4 separate regions of the Homo sapiens genome follow, and regions 2, 3 and 4 are each linked to region 1. The links are contacts of gene promoters, found by promoter capture Hi-C in blood cells and fetal thymus (Javierre and others, 2016). All regions are on one chromosome and are shown on one strand. The core of a region is centred on a gene start or on the middle of the fragment in contact, and the rest is flanking DNA. Distances in the headings are between cores, read along the strand shown. Region 1 holds the start of CENPH (centromere protein H). Region 2 overlaps MARVELD2 (MARVEL domain containing 2). Region 3 overlaps RAD17 (RAD17 checkpoint clamp loader component). Region 4 has its middle 16 kb from the start of CCDC125.

Region 1 (3,074 bases), core at 287-2,786:
GATACAGAAAAATAACAAAGATACTAATCCTTGGATTACTAATTCATATAGTTTTTCAGTTGTTCTATAAATCCAAAAATCATACATAAGTAGAAAAACTATGAGCAAATGGTAATTTAAGATGACAGCAAGGGTGAGGAGGAAAAAACAATAAAAAAGAAATAGACATCTTTTCATTTTTCAAAACATTTAAGAAAGAAAAAAATGGTAATTAATTTTTTTTTTTTGAGTCAAGAGTCTTGCTCTATTGCCCAGGCTGGAGTGCAATGGCACAATCTTCTGCTCACTGCAACCTCTGCCTCCCGGGTTCAATCAATTCTCTTGCCTCAGCCTCCTGAGTAGCTGGGATTACAGGCGCCCGCCACCACGCCCAGCTAATTTTTGTATTTTTAGTAGAGACGGGGTTTCACCATGTTGGCCATGGTTGGCCAGGCTGGTCTTGAACTCCTGACTTAAGGTGATCCGTCTGCCTCGGCATCCCAAAGTGTTGGGATTACAGGCGTGAGCCACCGCGCTCAGCCAATAATGATTTTTTTAAAACTACCTCTGTTATGATATAGAACAGAGGACCGCAAATTTTTTTCTGTAAAGGACCTGATAGTAAATTTTTTAGGGTTTGTGAGTCACACGGTCTCTGTTTTAGCTACTCAATTCCACCCTTGTGGCAGGAAAGTTGTACTCCAATAAAACTGTTTATGGAAACTGAAACTTGAATTTCTAATAGAGTTCACGTGTTATGAAATATTTTTATGATCTTTTCCCTGCAACACTTAAACATAAAAACTATTCTTAGCTTGAGTGGTCACACAAAAATAGGCAGTTAGGCAGATTTGGCCCAGGACCTTCTCCTGCTCACTAGTTTAGAAGACGAATGTCCCTTCTCATCGAATCTTCCCCAGCAACCGCTTAGTGGAAAAGTATAAACACCGTCCGCTTAGTAGAATTTATAACATATAAAGCTTCTGGGTTACAAAGGGTCGTAGTTCTAAAAGAAATGGTAGGGGCACCTTCCTTCCAGTTTAGCTCTGGCATTCAATTTGTCTGTAAACCAGAGAGGTAGGGGGAGGGCGGGGAAACAGGAGGAGAAATTACAGCTTCTAAGGGCCCGGGGCACTGTGCTCAACACTTTCCTAGACTATCTCATTTAACCCTTGTAACCTCTCTCCAGGGGGTCATTTTTCTCTCCTTTTCGCTGATGAAGAAAGAGCTTCAACAGTTTAAGTGAATGAGGCAATCACGGAGACCTGACGTGACCGAGCGTGAATTCGAACCCTAGCCCTTCTGAGCAAGGGCGGAGTTCCGGGCCACAACGCCCACTTGGCCCCGGCTGAGGAGGCCAAAGGGAACAACCTGAGGAGCAGGGTCATGCGGTCCTCGCTGCACGCCGCCTGGGCGCCGGCGACCTGCGGTGGCCCGCCTGCCCGGCCTTCCCCTCCGGAGTCCGCGGGCTCGTCGGCGTCTTGCATCTGGGGCTGCTCCTCCATTGCTGGTTGAGGGGAAAGGCTACCACTCAACAGGCAAACGCGCTCAGAAAAGGTCGCTTTTCCCGCCACTAAATGGACGCCGGGAAAAGGCCCGAGGGCCCCGCCCCTTCCGCCCAGGGCCCCACCCTTTCCGCCTTGTTTTTCGGTTGCCGTGGTTACTACGGGCTCCTCTTTCATCCGGGCTCTACTGGTGAAAATAACTGCAGACGGCTGGTAAAAAGTTGGAATAGCTTTCGTTAAGCGTCGGATGTGTAGAGTGCTGAGTTAGGGGCTGGACTAGAGACGTTGGGACATCTCCCGGGAACAGCAGCCTGGAGGGGAAAAATCTCCTGACCTAAGTGGTCATTCGGCCTTGGCGCTTGGACACGGGAGTGCGGCGACAGCCATATGTCCATCCATCTTGGCACTTTTCCGTCCTCTGCCTTTGAAGATGGGTGTGCCCGGCAGGCTGTGAAAGATAAACATTAGAGGGTTGTTTAGAAGACTTTTTTGACCTGAGCCCATGAGGTGCATACCCTTTGTTTGGCGGAGAAACCAGTGGCTTCTGAAGATCAGGGACGGGCCACAAGTGCGAGGCATTGCAGACATTTCGAACCCAGACTTCCAGCCTGGAGACATCCACACGCTTCCAGTTTCTTGCACTGGTACTTCATTCTGTCATTATGATTGCCACCACTCGTAACTGAGAGTTGCGTGCCCTCAAGTTTTGAGTGTCTGCAGGGTACCTTTGAGCTTTCTTAGCTGTGTAGTGAGTGGGGGGAATGGAGAAAATGAAGGACAGATGACTGATTTGTAGTTTTTCATTTGGACACTGTCCTTGCCGCACAAGCACAGCAGCTTGAACCTCTTTGAACAAGAGTCGAGAGTTCTTTTACAGCTAATTACCCACTAGTTAAACTTGATCATACTGTGCTGTTTTCTTCCTCTCCATTGTCAATGTAATACGGCTCCTGACAAAAGTTAAATTCGCTGGGCGTGGTGGCTCACCCCTGTACTCCCAGCACTTTGGGGGCTGAGGCGGGTGGATCACCTGAAGTCAGGAATTCAAGACCAGCCTGGCCAACATGGTGAAACCCCGTCTCTACTAAAAATACAAAAGTTAGCTGCGTGTGGTGGCGGGCGCCTGTAATCCCAGCTACTCAGGAGGCTGAGGCAGGAGAATCGTTTGAACCCGGGGGGGCGGAGGTTGCAGTGAGCTGAGATCGCGCCACTGCACTTCAGCCTGGGTGACAGAGTGAAACTCCGTCTCAAAAAAAAAAAAAAAAGCCGGGCGCTGTGGCTCACACCTATAATCCCAGCACTTTGGGAAGCCGAGGGGGGAGGATCTCGAGGTCAGGAGTTGGAGACCAGCCTGACCAACATGGAGAAACCTCGTCTCTACTAAAAATACAAAATTAGCCAGGCGTGGTGGTGGGCACCTGTAATCCCAGCTACTGGGGAGGCCGAGGCAGGAGAATCCTTTGATCCCGGGAAGCAGAGGTTGCAGTGAGCCGAGATCACACCAGAGATGCACGCCAGCCTGGGCAACAGAGCAAGATTCCTTCTCGAAAAACAAACAAACAAACAAAAAAACAGTTCAAAAGACACAGA
Region 2 (3,074 bases), core at 237-2,736, 230 kb before region 1:
CAAGGTGCCCAGATTTCATATTGTTCAAACACACATGCTCTACAAACAATTTGTGCAGTTAACTCAATCATCACACGGTCCTGAGGCAACATACATCCTCCTCAGTTTATGAAGATGACGGGATTAAGAGATTAAAGACAGGCATAGGAAATCACAAGGGTATTGATTGGGGAAGTGATAAGTGTCCATGAAATCTTCACAATTTATGTTCAGAGACTGCAGTAAAGACAGGCATAAGAAATTATAAAAGTATTAATTTGGGGAATTAATAAATGTCCATGAAATCTTCACAATTTATGTTCTTCTGCCATGGCTTCAGCTGGTCCCTCTGTTTGGGGTCCCTGACTTCCCGCAACAGTGCCACTGCACTCTGGCAACAGAGTGAGACTCTGTCTCAAAAAAAAAAAAAAAAAGAAAGAAAAGAAAATTAAAAAAACCAAAAAACGGGCCAGGCATGGTGGCTCACACCTGTAATCCCAGCACTTTGGGATGCCAAGGCAGGTGGATTGCTTGAGTCCAGGAGTTTGAGACCAGCCTGGACAACATGGCAAATACTCATCTCTAAAGAAAAAAAAAATTAAAAAAATTTTAAAACCAAAGCGCTATTTGTTGCTATGCATCAGATTCAAGCAAAAGATTAAAAACAAAATACATATGTCAGTGTGTGCTGTTATAAGGACAGGATTTAATTTTTATTTATAGTTTTGCCCAATATATACCATGTGCAATTGTATAGTATCTAAGAAGTCTTAGGAAAAGTGGAAAAGCAAAAATTCATAATATAGTTAACTTAAAATTACAAAAAATTTTAAGGTAAATACTGAAAATTTCAGTGGCATAGGAGAGTCTACTATACACATATCCTTGGAAGAAGGCAAAATATCAACTTACTTCAGAGAATAATGTAGCCAGTGGAACATACTCTAACATTTGCTACTGTTCAACCAAAATAATTTTAGGTAGGGCTTTTATCTCATCCTTCAGTTATTATTATTTTATTCTTCTTATTGTTCTCATTATTATTTATTCTCATTATTATCCTATTAAGTTCTAGAAATATAAAAACAATGTAGGACTTCCATTCTCATTTTGGACCATACGTCTTCCTCAAATAAAGACAAATTATCAAAACCACTGGGCAAGTTTTCAGAGTATGTTCATTACAATTCAATCTCTCAATACTTAAAAAAAATCAAACATGGTTTACCACATTCTTATTTGGCTTTATTCAACTCACTGGGAGAAAGTAAATTGTAACATTTAAATGAAAAATTAGGAGCTTTTATTAAAGAATTAAGATTGTTCTCAAACTTAATGATGAGACACTTATTTTACTGAGTACACTCTTCTTCTTTGCAAAAATTCGGTAGCTGTATCTTTCCCTTAAGCTTCAGACAGACATAATAATGCAGCCAACAAACTATATATTACACATCTGGTGTCTACTTGCAATGTTATGTAACAGCCAAACACCAGAGTGGGTTATCCCAGTCAAAGCATGTCAGATATTGCACTAGGACTTTTGAATCTCAGACCATTGAAAAAAAAAAAAAGGAAGAAAGAAAAGATTTCTATGAAAGCTTTCTGTTTTGAGCGCTATACATTTTTTAACAAGGGAGCAAATAACAGAAAAAACAAACATACACACACAAATGAGGGATTATGAAATCACTTACCTCCTGTTGTTCCATATATTCTCTATGTCTCCGAGCTGCCTCATGCCTCCATAACTTTAGGCAAACCAAAGCACTAATGAGATAAACTATCATGGTGACAAACAGGAAGATCATTGCAGCTATCTGTCCTCCTTCTACCCGGCAGAACACTGCATTCACTGGTGTATTAAATAACGGATAGTAGCAGAGGCCACCTCGGTTGGTATCATTCACATAGACTATGGCTGCGGCCATATACAAAATAAACAAGGCAACGTTAATTCCAAATTCAGTTAGGGGCCACCAATTAGAGTCCAGAAGAATGGTCCGGTAATACATGGACATGCCAAGAACCAGAATAATAATGGTGGTGATCCAAGCTAATCCAGCAACCACGAGTACAAAAGGGGTCTTAGGGCCAGTGTAGTAATAGCCCCCATACATACTGCCCAATCCACCAACGCCTCCCATGCCATACGGTTGTGAATATCCAAACAAGTTGTACCACTCACTGTCCTTGTGAATGTAAGCTGTGACACAAGCAAAGACACCGGCCCCCAAAAGCAGCTCCACCACACCCAGTATTCTCAGCAGGCCTGCCCACGACTTCATGTAGGAGTATCTCAGGTTATACTCCTCCACCTTCTCACTGTATGTTCGAACTGTTTGTGTGTGTCGGTCTAGAGATCCATAGGGATCCCGGGGAAACACTGCGTCAGCCTCTTTCCGGGAACTAAAGGTTCCTTCTGACCCTCCGTAGGGATCTTTGCAGGAGTTGAGGGGCGAACGGTGGTTTGGTCTTGCTGGAGAGGCTGGTGGTGAACACTCCACTCCATCGGAGATGTACCTGATATCAGACACCGGCTTATCCCATTCGGGGTCCTTTTTCTTCCCTCTGAAAAAGTTCTTCCAGGAGTCAGGGACAAAGCGCCTTACTGGTTTGAGATCTGGCGCTATAGCTGGTTCTTCTGTGTCACTTGAGTAGAAGTCTGGGCCGAATGGTGGCTGTAATGGGAGAGGGGGTGGTGGCAAGGGATCAGCGCTCACTGCCCGCTCACTGTCATGAAGAGTTGGGTGGGTTCTTATGGTGGTATCTTGATAGGGCAGGTCGCTTGGGACCTCATCGTAGCGCCTGTCCCGATTCCTGGATCTTCCATCATTTGACATTTGTGATTTTCACACCTGTGGCCAAATTTAAAGTTATCACTTATGATTAGTTACTTATCCTCTCAATGATGCTGATTTTATTCATGTAGTAGCAAAAAGTATTTAGGAGACCAACAGGATCATGTCTAATTATTATGATATACAAAAATGATAAATATGATACCGGGCACGGTGGCTCATGCCTGTAATCCCAGCACTTTGGGAGGCCAAGACAGACGGATCATTTCAGGTCAGGAGTTTGAGACCAGCCTG
Region 3 (3,074 bases), core at 249-2,748, 200 kb before region 1:
TTATCAGCAGAAAAATCAGATTTGCTACTGAAGCTTCATTATAAACACTGAGTTGGTTACATTAACTTTAGCATAGTTATGAAGAAAAGTCACATAAAATAATGTCAGGCAATTAGGGATAAAAGTAAACTTTCTTTTCTTAATTCTAAGGAAATACTATAAACATAAACATTTTAAGTCAAATGGTCTTACATTCCAGTCACCACTGAGGATATCTGCAAAACTCAGAAATTCACTGGCTCTCACAATATCATCAATTTCCATGAAGAAATCTATGTAGTTTTGGTGAAGATATAAATTAAATAAGTCTCCAGGCATGTGTGACATTTCTACTACCTCCTATAAAAAGAAGCATATATACATAAATTTGGTAAAAATGCAATGGTCAAATATATATGCACACGAATAATATATCCTTTGTAACCTATACTAAGTGTCATCAAAGAACTTACCTCAGGTTCAACAAGTAATGTATCCCGTTCATATTCTGATAAATGAGAGGGCAACCGAGGTGAGTCTAATTCTGTTAAAGATGCTCCTATAAAAAATTTCTGGAATTATTAAAGATAATACCTTCTTTATAATTATATAGCACCTCTCATTTGAAGAGTTTGAAAATTTTAGACATACAATACCAACATAGTAACAAACTGTTAAAAAATAATAAATAAATAAAAAACAACTGGAAGCAAGCACCTATTTTTTCCACATTAGCAAGAACTAAATTAACAATTCTGATGCTTAGATTATGGCTTCTCTAGACTTAAAATATTCCATTTCCTAATGCACTCCCATTTCACCTTTTTCAGCTTTGGGTTGCTTTCTTCCCTTGATTTCTCATCTCAATACAGTGGTCTTTACTCTTTTATTTACTATGTAGGAAGATGTTGCTCTCTACATGAAAGAATACGAATTCCATTCACTAATGCAAGAGACGATAAACGTATGTTGGGGAGGAAAAGAAAGGAGAGAAAGAAAAGAATCAGGTGGGAATAGTCACTCAGGTTCAAAGTAAGAGGATCCAGTGACAGAGGAGTGTCCTCACTGCCACCTAAGTGATGCCCATTTTCCTCAGATGGTATGAAGGTTTCCATTTAGAAATCCTAATTTCTTTCCTTTAGGGTCATCAGACTGAAAACAGGCATTTGCTATCAAAAGGAGGGATTATTTGGGACACTAAAATGGGCAATAGGGAGTGAAAGAACTGAGGGGGAGCAGTCATCAAAAAAGACAGAAAAGGCGATAAACATCTCTGGTTGGGGAGACAGAACGCTTGTAAATTAGAGAAATACAAGACGATTGAAAGAAACCTTAAACTACCTGGTAATTTGTATAAGGCTCTGTTGGCTGGAGCCCAGTGTTAAGAGGGCTTTAGGCTACCAACACTTGCCACTACAAGTCTAGATGATCTGCTCTCTTACCTTCAGCAAACTATAATTTTAAAGATTTACACACATGGATATGGCCTGCAATTGCATGTTTTTACTTTTAATCCTGCTTACGGTCAGAAAATATTCTGATTTCCTACTATGTCTTAGGCCTAGGCAAACAGTATCTGACCTAGCTCTAACTCTTAGAGCAGAACCAAAATACATGACATTTTTTTAAAAGTGACATTTTATTTCCATTTTAAGACTATGTGATATCCAACAGATTTTAAAAGTGTAAAAATTTCTTACTTTTACAATATAGAATTTTCCCCAAAGCTCTGAAGAGAAACAGAGAAACATCTTTGCCACCAATAGCTTGGACCTCTTGATTTTCAAAAACCCTATCAGGTTTTTTTCTTCGTTTTGATTTTGACAGCACAGCATCTGATTTTAAAGACATTCCTTTTTTCCTTGGCCGTAAGTTGTTTTCTCCTGAATAATATACATCCAAGTGACAATATTTAAATTAAAATATGAAAATTAAAACTAAGAACACTTCAGATATAGTTACACTAAATATTCTAATTACAATTTGTTTTCCTAATAAACAAAAATTATAAATGACATTAACTGAGTTGGAATCCTCTTTGGGTTACTAACATTAAAATGGAATAAAGTATTATCTGAAAGTTATTTCATAATGCAGATTTCAAACTTTCACATGCACAATAGCACAATCTCTAATATAGGCTGACATTCCTGATCCAAAAAATTCAAACTCCAAAATACTCCAAAATATGAAACTTGCAGTGCCAACATGATGCTCAAAGGAAATGCTCATTGGAGCACTTTGTATTTCAGATTTTCAGACAAGGGATTTTCAATTCGTATAATGCAAATATTCCAAAATCTTAAAAAAATCTGCAATCCTTCTATTCCCAAAAATTGCAAATAAAGGATATTCAACCTGTACAGTCACATCGCCTTGGTTTCTCATCGTGTTATGTGCAAGATACTGTTCTTGGCATGTAATACATAGGAATTTAATCTTCATAACAACCCTGTGAAGGGAGAATTTTTTTTTTTTTTTTTTGAGATGGAGTCTCGCTCTGTTGCCCAGGCTGGAGTGCAGTGGTGTGATCTCGGCTCACCACAACCTCTGCCTCCTGGGTTCAAGCGATTCTCCTGCCTCAGCCTCCCGAGCAGCTAGAATTACAGGTGTATGCCCGGCTAAATTTTTGTATTTTTAGCAGAGATGAGGTTTCACCATGTTGGCCAGGCTGGTCACAACCTCCCAACCACACAAATTGGCCTCCCCAAGTGCTGGGATTACAGGCATGAGCCACCATGCCCGGCCTTTTTTTTTTTTTGACACAGGGTCTGGCTCTATCACCCAGGCTGGAGTACAGTGGCACAATCATAGCTCACTGAAGCCTCAACCTCCAGGCTCAAGTGATCCTCCCACCTCAGCCTCTCAAGTAGCCGGGACTACATGCACCACCATGCTGGCTATATATATATATATTTTTAATTAGAGACGAGGCCTCGCTATGTTGCCCAGGCTGGTATCAGACTCTTGAGGTTGAAGCTTTCTTCCACCTCAGTCTCCTATAGTGTTGGGATAACAGGCGAGAGCCACTGCACCTGACCAATTATTATTAGACAGTTAATGAAATGAGATACAAAGAGGTAAAGTCATTGGCT
Region 4 (3,074 bases), core at 418-2,917, 160 kb before region 1:
TATTTGTTGATTTTTACCATTTCAGCGATTTTTATTAGGCTAAGTGTGTGTGTATGTTCTGTAACTTACTTCACTTGCAGGCATGACAGGGTGAGGTCTGTCTCTCTACATGGGCCACTCCCGGGGTCTGGTCACAATATACCACCACAGGGGGCAAAGCTTCAGTCCTAGACCACCAGTTGGGATTTCCTCCTGCAGCTGCTTAACCTCTCACTCCTGGCTTTGCCTCAGCAGTTTCTTCCACTGCTCTCTCTTGGCTAAGTAATCAGGGTACATTGCCTTCTCAGAAGGATTCCAGTCATCTAAGCACCACTCCAGAGACTTGTAGCATATCACTCGTATCTCTCATAGGAAGTACCCCCAGAGAGTCAGGGAAGAGAATGGCTGTGAATGCTGACGATACCAGAATTCCTCTGCCTCCCTCAGCAGTGGGGTAGCCTCCATCATACCCTTTTTTTTTTTCCTATGCTCTTCAAACCAGGCTCTCATCAAACAGGCAAAATATACCATTATTTATCTCTGGATGCACCATGGCTTGAGGTGGTACAGCGCCTGGTTACAAAGCAGCAACACCTTCTGGTGATAGGTCAAGTAGGCCCTCCAGCATCGAGAACACCATGACTGCTTGATCCCATCTTTTTTTTTTTTTGAGACGGAGTCTTGCTCTGTCGCCCAGGCTGGAGTGCAGTGGTGCAATCTCGGCTCACTGCAAGCTCCACCTCCCGAGTTCACGCCATTCTCCTGTCTCAGTCTCCCAAGTAGCTGGGACTACAGGCGCCTGCCACCACGCCCGGCTAATTTTTGTATTTTTAGTAGAGACGGGGTTTCACCATGTCAGGCAGGATGGTCTCGATCTCCTGACCTCGTGATCTGCCCACCTTGGCCTCCCAGAGTGCTGGGATTAGAGGCGTGAGCCACCGCGCCTGGCCTTTTTTTTTTTTTTTTTTTTTTTTTTTTTGAGGCAGTCTCACTCTTGTTGCCCAGGCTGGAGTGCAATGGCGTGATCTCAGCTCACTGCAGGTTCAAGGGTTCAACCTCCACCTCCCAGGTTCAAGCGATTCTCTTGCCTCAATCTCCCAAGTAGCTGGGATTACAGGCATGCACCACCATACCCGGCTGATTTTGTATTTTTAGTAAAGACAGAGTTTCTCCCTCGAACTCCCAACCTCAGGTAATCTGCCCGCCTCAGCCTCCCAAAGTGCTGGGATTGCAGGCGTGAGCCACCTTGCCTGGCAACTCCCATCTTTTTTATTATAACTATACTAGTGGGTGAGTAGTATATCACATTTTGGTTTTGATTTACATTTCTCTAATGATTTATGATGAGCATCTTTTCATGTGCCTATTGGTTTATCTTCTTTGGATCCCTCATCTTTTTAATGTTTGCATAAAATGGCATTAATGAGGCTAGGCCCAGTGGCTCATGCCTGTAATCCCAACACTTTGGGAGGCCGAGGTGGGTGGATCACCTGAGGTCAGGAGTTTGAGACCAGCCTAACCAACATGGTGAATCCTTGTTTCTACTAAAATACAAAAATTAGCCGGGCGTGGTGGTGGGTGCCTGTAATCTCAGCTACTTGAGAGGCTGAGGCAGGAGAATCGCTTGAACCGAGGAGGTGGAGGTTGCAATGAGCCGAGATTGCACCATTGCACTCCATCCTGGGCAATAAGAGTGAAACTCCCATCTCAAAAAAAAAAAAAAAAAAAAAAAGCCATTAATGATATGCCAAGTACCCAGGCACTGTGGCTCACACTTGTAATCCTAGGACTTTGGGAGGCCAAGGCGGGCGGATGACTTAAGCCCAGGAGTTTGAGACCAACCTGGCCGACATGGTGAAACACTGTTCCTAAAAATAAATAAATAAATTAATTAATTAAGTAAATAGGCCAGGCCGGGCGCGGAGGCTCACGCCTGTAATCCCAGCACTTTGGGAGGTCGAGGCAGGCAGATCACGAAGTCAGGAGATTGAGACCATCCTGGCTAACACGGTGAAACCCCGTCTCTACTAAAAATACAAAAAATTAGCCAGGCGTGATGGCAGGCACCTGTAGTCCCAGCTACTCGGGAGGCTGAGGCAGGAGAATGGCATGAACCCGGGAGGCAGAGCTTGCAGTGAGCCGAGATAGTGCCTCTGCACTCCAGGCTGGGCCACACTCTGTCGCAAAAAAAAAAAAAATAGGTCAGGCATGGTGGCTCACTCCTGTAATCTCAGCACTTTGGGAGGCCTAGGTGGGAGGATCACTTGAGCTCAGAAGTTCGAGACCAGCCTGGGCAACATAGTGAGACCTCGTCTCTATTTAAAAAAAAGAAAAAAGAGGCTGGGCATAGTGGCTCATGCCTGTAATCCCAGCACTTTAGGAGGCCAAGGCAGGTGGATCACTTGAGATTAGGAGTTCGAGACCAGCCTGGCCAACATGGTGAAATCTCGTCTCTACCAAAAATACAAAAACTAGCCAGGCATGGTGGTGCATGCCTGTAATCCCAGCTACTCCGGAGGCCGAGGCAGGAGAATCGCTTTAACTCAGGCAGCGGAGGTTGGAGTGAGCTCAGATTGTGCCACTGCATTCCAGCCTGGGCAACAGAGTGAGACACTGTCTCCAAAAAAATGAATAAATAAATAAAAATAAAATAATAGCCCAGAGTGGTGGCATGCACCTATAGTCCCAGCTACTCAGGAGGCTGACGCAGGAGGATCACCTGAGCCTGAGGAGGTCGAGGCTGCAGTGAGCTGTGATTGAGCCACTGCACTCCATCCTGGGCGGACAGAGTGAGAACTTGTCTCAAAAAAAAAGACATGCCAAGTTTGATTTAATCAGTCCTCTCACTAATGGACATTTAGGCTGTTTCCAGCTTTTTACTATTACAATGATGCAAGAATAATAAAGAGTAAATATATTACTATGACATAAACTTCTAAACACATTTCAAAAGTGAATTCTTTATCCACATGACCACTCTCTGAGGTAGATGTTATTATTATTTCCATTACAGGAACCAAGGCACAGAAGAGTTAAGTGGCTTATCCAAGATAATAGCTAAAAAGTATTAGCTTCAGTGTTCTATCTTAGGCAGG

The links. The method cuts DNA at HindIII sites, captures the fragments that hold promoters and counts their contacts. A CHiCAGO score of 5 or more calls a contact.
Region 2: a fragment that was not itself captured here is called in contact with the fragment with the promoter of CENPH in region 1 in 8 of 17 cell types (erythroblasts, activated CD4 T cells, fetal thymus and 5 more); the score reaches 10.1 in erythroblasts.
Region 3: a fragment that was not itself captured here is called in contact with the fragment with the promoter of CENPH in region 1 in 13 of 17 cell types (neutrophils, erythroblasts, total CD4 T cells and 10 more); the score reaches 12.7 in neutrophils.
Region 4: a fragment that was not itself captured here is called in contact with the fragment with the promoter of CENPH in region 1 in 17 of 17 cell types (neutrophils, erythroblasts, total B cells and 14 more); the score reaches 27.5 in neutrophils.

Annotation. Positions count from the first base shown.
Region 1 is chr5:69,188,045-69,191,118 of GRCh38, reverse strand. CENPH (centromere protein H) reads right to left here and starts at 1,536. Exons shown (of 9, transcript NM_022909.4): 1 at 1,351-1,536. The coding sequence starts at 1,484. It overlaps LOC112267932 (a long non-coding RNA gene), which reads left to right and starts at 1,642. Exons shown (of 2, transcript XR_002956215.2): 1 at 1,642-2,128. RefSeq lists a silencer at 1,485-1,604 and enhancers at 1,463-1,757, 1,685-1,924. The HindIII fragment of the contact is 12,435 bases long and covers 962-3,074 here.
Region 2 is chr5:69,419,134-69,422,207 of GRCh38, reverse strand. It overlaps MARVELD2 (MARVEL domain containing 2), which reads right to left. Exons shown (of 7, transcript NM_001038603.3): 2 at 1,677-2,837. The coding sequence starts at 2,822. Among named protein-coding and RNA genes, the nearest start is that of MARVELD2, 5.6 kb to the right of the region's middle. The HindIII fragment of the contact is 192 bases long and covers 1,391-1,582 here.
Region 3 is chr5:69,390,619-69,393,692 of GRCh38, reverse strand. RAD17 (RAD17 checkpoint clamp loader component) reads right to left here. Exons shown (of 19, transcript NM_133338.3): 13 at 1,680-1,862; 14 at 453-538; 15 at 193-339. Among named protein-coding and RNA genes, the nearest start is that of RAD17, 22 kb to the right of the region's middle. The HindIII fragment of the contact is 2,925 bases long and covers 36-2,960 here.
Region 4 is chr5:69,347,480-69,350,553 of GRCh38, reverse strand. It overlaps the pseudogene NDUFB9P1. Among named protein-coding and RNA genes, the nearest start is that of CCDC125, 16 kb to the right of the region's middle. The HindIII fragment of the contact is 3,012 bases long and covers 162-3,074 here.